Linked DNA regions of Homo sapiens: region 2 is linked to region 1. Evidence: promoter capture Hi-C in human tissues and cell types (Jung and others, 2019). All regions are on one chromosome and are shown on one strand. Each heading gives the region's core, a stretch centred on a gene start or on the middle of the fragment in contact. The rest is flanking DNA. Distances are from core to core; before and after follow the strand shown.

The links. Contacts are between HindIII fragments. The study calls those that stand out against the background at their distance.
Region 2: a fragment that was not itself captured here is called in contact with the fragment with the promoter of TDRD10 in region 1 in 1 of the 25 tissues and cell types used here (pancreas).

What each region holds. Positions count from the first base shown.
Region 1 is chr1:154,500,771-154,503,470 of GRCh38, reverse strand. TDRD10 (tudor domain containing 10) reads right to left here and starts at 1,252. Exons shown (of 13, transcript NM_182499.4): 1 at 442-1,252. SHE (Src homology 2 domain containing E) reads left to right here and starts at 1,059. Exons shown (of 6, transcript NM_001010846.3): 1 at 1,059-2,035. The coding sequence starts at 1,445. The HindIII fragment of the contact is 3,684 bases long and covers 1-2,700 here.
Region 2 is chr1:154,437,440-154,440,139 of GRCh38, reverse strand. All of the region lies in intron 6 of IL6R (interleukin 6 receptor), which reads right to left. Among named protein-coding and RNA genes, the nearest start is that of IL6R-AS1, 32 kb to the right of the region's middle. The HindIII fragment of the contact is 3,775 bases long and covers 1-2,700 here.

The DNA.
Region 1 (2,700 bases), core at 3-2,502:
AACCATAGGCGCGCACCACCACGCCCGGCTAATTTTTGTATTTTTAGTAGAGACCAGGTTTCACCATGTTGGCCAGGCTGGTCTCGAACTCTTGATCTCAGGTGATCTGCCCGCCTCGGCCTCCCAAAGTGCTGGGATTACAGTCGTGAGCCACCGCGCCCGGCCTCAGAAAGCTTTTAAAGGGCTTCGAAGGGAGGGAGGAATGGCAGAGGCGTCTTTTCCCTTAAAGTGGCCACAGTTCTGCACACGGCACTCCCCGCCCGCACAAATCCAGACTAGGAGGGCCGCTCCCAACCGGCGCGAGCGAGCGACGGCCCCGCGGGAACAGCGACCCCTTTCCCCCATCAGTCGGGACGAGGGCGTTTCCCATGGCTGCCTGCCGACGCCCCTCCCTCCCAACCCTCGCCTGGCATCCCGGGACCTGGGGCCGACAAGCCATACCTCGTCTCGCGGGCCACGCGCGTGCACCTGCGATCGCGACGCCCAGCCTTCGCGCCTTCTCCCTCCGCGCTCCGCCCCCTCTGAGCCCGGGGGCACGGGGCGGGGCTTGCCGGCAGCCAATCCCCGGCGGCCACGGCGGGAAGAGCCTCGCGCTGCCCAGGACCGTGTGCCACCGAAGAGTAACGGAACTAGCGCAGGAGCTGGCGACCGTTGTCCCTGCGCCCGGACCTCGGGCCGCAACCTCTGCCCTACCGCCAAAAATAACGTCTGCAGAAAGAGTGGAGTAGAGCGGAGTGGGTGGGCGAGGGGCTTCCTTCCCGGGGGTGAGCGGCGCACGTGACACTCCTGGGCGCGTGTGAAGGCAGCGCCCGGCCGAGACCGGCTCGGTGCAGACGCGGGCTGTCGGCGGCAGAAGGGGGCTCTCTGCTCAGTGGGGCGCGGCCGATCCGCACGTGCGGCCGCCGCCCCTTTCTCCAGAGCTCGCAGCCCGACCCGCCTCTGCCATGGCGCTCACCCCGCCGCCCCCAGCTCTGGGCAGGAGGTGGCGGGGCTGGGAGGCGCCAGCCGCGGAGGGGAGGGGCGCGCGGAGTTGATGGGCCGCTCGCCGTCCGTCCACCGTCTGTCGCTGCGCCGGGGATACTCCCGCCGCCTCCGCTCGGTCCTCTCTGGTCCCTGGGAGCGTGGGCTGGGCCGCAGGGGGCTTCCGTGGGCCTGGCCTCTCCCACCGCAGGAGGAAAGAGCAGGGGGAAGCCCCCGGCGCCCGCCGCCTCCGAGAGCCACGGTGTCCTCGGGCCGGGCAGGCGTTGAAGACGAGCCCGGGCGGGGCCCCCCGCGCGTCGTGCCTGTCGCCTGCCGTGTCCGGAGCAGAGGCTAGCGCCCGCCCGCTCGGCGCCCCGAGCCGTGAGAACCCCACCCTGCCGGGCGTGGGCGACGGCCGGCCGGGGGCGCACGGAGCAGCCGTCGCGGGGCCTCGCCGCGGCCTCCAGCGCCCCAGTCACGGGGAATGCAGTGGTCCCCGACCCCTGGCGCCTCTGCGTGTCTGGGCTGGGCTTCCTCGCTCGCCTGCTCCACGGCCCCGACGCTCCTGGGCCGAGCCGGCCGGGGCCCCCTCATGGCGGCCAAGTGGTTCAAGGAGTTCCCCCTGAACCTGAAGACCGTGTCGGAGCGGGCCAAGCCCGGGGGCGGCGGCGGCAAATTGCGCAAGAACTCGGAGGCGGGCGGCGCTGGGCCGGGTCCTGGCAAGGGCCGCAAGAACTCGGCGGCCGAGCTGGGGAGCGGCAGGGCCGGCGTCGGCCCCAAGGACAGCCGGCTGTCCCGCGACAGCCTGCAGGGTCTGATTCAGGCCGCCGCGGGCAAGGGCCGCAAAAACTCCCGGGCCACGGAGGAGGAGCCCCACCGGGGTGCAACCAAGAGCTCGGGCTGCAGCACCTACATCAACAGGCTCATCAAGGTGGACACTCAGGAGAAGAACGGGAAGAGCAACTACCCCAGCAGCAGTAGCTCCAGCTCCAGCTCCTCTTCCTCCGCGTCCTCTTCCCCTTCCTCCCTGGGGCCCGAGCTGGACAAGGGCAAGATTATTAAGCAGCAAGAGACGGTAAGAATACAGCCTCCCTTGGACCACCTCTCAGTCGAAGGGGAGCCCTGGGCGCCTGCTAAGCCCTAGGCTTCTTTAGACCTAAGAGGCAGTGAGGATAGGTTTCCTAAGGTCCTTTCTCCCTCCACCATTTGGGAATTCCTGACCATTTAAAATTCTTAGACTGTTTTTTAATTCTTGAAAAACTCTTATTTTAGAGGTGGGGAGTTTTGCAGAAATGTACTAGCCATTGAATTTTGTTAGCAGTTTAGAAGAGTCGTTGAATGAGATATTCCTGTTTGGTTACATTTGACCCCTTTATAGATGTGGTTCATTTTAATTTTGATATTCAGGGGAATTGCAAAGCTAGGCTTGTGTATGACTTTTATGCTTCTTGAGCATAAGGAATGGTAACCTCTCAAGTGTGTAGATATGCATTTCAAAGCTTCAGGAAATGGTTTAACCAACAGTCTTCTCCACTGATTTGGAAGTTCCATCATTTTCTGCGGTTCCACCGAGTAAAGGGCTCCTCGGAGGTTCAGCAAATCTCCAAGACTGCTGCCCTTTCATTCATTCCATGGGCATTTGTTGCGCAGCAGCCATATGAGGAAAGGAGCACAGGGCATTAAGGGCTGTGGAGGATACAGAATATGACAAGGAAATGCTCTCAAGGAAATTACAGATGA
Region 2 (2,700 bases), core at 99-2,598, 63 kb after region 1:
CTTATTTGAAGTACCTAGAGTGCAGCCTGGGCAACATGGTGAAACCTTGTCTCTACAAAAAATACAAAAATTAGCCAGGCATGGTGGCAGGCGCCTGTAATCTCAGCTACTCAGGAGGCTAAGGCTGGAGAATTGCTTGAACCCGGGAGGCAGAGGTTGCAGTGAGCCAAGGTCACGACAGTGCACTCCAGCCTGGGTGGGTGACAGAGTGAGACTCCGTCTCAAAAAAAAAGAGAAAAAGAGAGAGACAGAAAGAGACAAAGGAAGGCAGGCAGGCAGGTAGGCAGGCATGCAAGCAAGCAAGCAAGCAAATGAAGTACTAGAGTAGTCAAACTCACAGAAAAAGCAAGTAGACTGGTGGTTGCCACGAGCTGGGGGAAGGAGTGGGTGAAAGGAAAGTTACTGTTTAACAGATTCTGAGTTTCAGTTTTACAAGATGAAAAAAGTCCTGGAGAAGTAAAGTGGTGATGGTTGCACAACAATACTTAATGCCACAGAGCTGTGCACTTAAAAATAATATAAATGGGCAGGGCGCGGTGGCTCACGCCTGTAATCCCAGCACTTTGGGAGGCTGAGGTGGGTGAATCACCTGAGGTCAGGGGTTCAAGACCAGCCTGACCAATATGGTGAAACCCCATCTCCACTAAAAATATAAAAATTAGCCAGTCATGGTGGCAGGTGCCTGTAGTCCCAGCTACTCGGGAGGCTGAGATAGGAGAATTGCTTGAACCCGGGAGGCAGAGGTTGCATTGAGCTGAGATCACGCCACTGCACTCTAGCCTGGGCGACAGAGCGAGACTCCGTCTCAAAAAATAATAATAATAATATAAATGGTAAATCTTATGTACATTTTACAATTTGAAAATTTTTAGAAGAAACTTTATAAAAAAGCAAGATTGCTTTTAAGCTGCTTGTCACAAGCTTTAAGCTGCTTGTGACTATCTGAACTAAGTGGTTGGAATAAAAGGTAAAATAGGGATCAGCCTATATTTGGAATTCCTATTCCTCTGCACGATGTTAGAGCTGATTTTTCCCCCCTTAAAAAGGCCCCCAAAGCCATACTGATGCTCAGCATTCAGATAAATGAGTGTGTTTGGCTCAAAGTATACACAAATCAAAGAAAACCATGGACAGGTCAATACGATCTACCCTGAAGGATGCACTGATTTATTAAAATGGTCTCCCTAAGTAAGATATAGTAGTTAGGCCCCACTCCTTGTCCAGGTCTGAGCAGGAAAAAAGCTTTTGAGGAGAGGGCCCAATAGAAAGCTGCCTCCTGTCCTTGATGAACAAGGAAAGTGCCAACAAAGATGGAAGCCGGCACTTCATATTATTGCATCCAACTAGGATTACACCCTAAGCCCCAGCATACTCCTCTGGCTCTCCCCAGGACAGGAAAGACAAGGGACAAGGACCCCACAGTACAAAGCCAGCCAGGAGGAAGAGCCATCACCCCACACCATCCAATCTGGGGGAAGAATGTGCAGCCCATAGATAAAAGCCTTCTCTCCCTGGGGCCAGGGCTGGGAGAAAGTGGCAGGGGTCGGGATGGGACTGATGTCAATTCTACCTTTTCCTTTTTATCCATACTTACTCAAATAAATGGGTATCTTATTCTTTTTTTTTTCCTAACTGCCAAGTATTTAAGAATGATTAATTTGGTTCAACTACGCCACAGGGCTAGAAACATTTGACCCCAAAGTGAGCCATGAAGCCATTCTACAACAAAAACACTGGGAACAATAAAACAGATTGCTGCAAGGGGTAGTAAGCTCTCTGTCTCTGGAAGCATTTAAGCAGAGGCTGGCTGACCACTCTCTGGGTTGTGGTCAGGGAGATTCTTGCATTCTAGATCTGCTAAATCCTAACCTTTCATAGCAGGGTGTTGATAGATAATGTCTCAAGTGGTTTTATCAGGGAAAAAAAAAAGCCATATAAGCTTGTTGTTTAGAGTTAAGGAGGGCACCAACAGAGGAACTAGAAACAGAAAGAGTCAAGCAGCTTCCTTAGAAAGCAGGACTAGAAATGGAAGGCATGGGACAAGGGACCACTGCTCAGTGTTATAAGCTGTTTATTACTTCTTTGCCATGTGCATGTATTAATTTGATTAAAATTTTAAAAGTTTAGGCCAGGCGCGGTGGCTCACACCTGTAATCCCAGCATTTTGGGAGGGCGAGGCGGGTGGATCACGAGGTCAGGAGTTCAAGACCAGCCTGGCCAACACAGTGAAACCCCGTCTCTACTAAAAAAAAAAAAAAATTAGCCGGGCGTGGTGGTGTGCACCTGTAGTCCCAGCTACTCAGGAGGCTGAGGCAGGAGAATAGCGTGAACCCAAGAGGCAGAGCTTGCAGTGAGCCAATATCATGCCACTGCACTCCAGCCTGGGCAACAGAGCGAGATTCCGTCTAAAAAAAAAAATTTAAAGTTTAGTCAGGTGCAGTGGCTCACACCAGTAATCCCAGCACTTTGGGAGTCTGAGGCTGGTGGATCACTTGAGGCCAGGAGTTCGAGACCAGCCTGGGCAGCATGGTGAAACCCTGTCTCTACAAAACATTTTTAAAAAATTAGCATTGTGGCACACGCCTGTGGTCCCAGCTACTTAGGAGGCTGAGGCGGGAGGATTGCTTGAACCCAGGAGGCAGAAGTTGCCGTGAGCTGTGATTGCACTGCTGTACTCCATCCTGGGCAACGAGGAGAAAG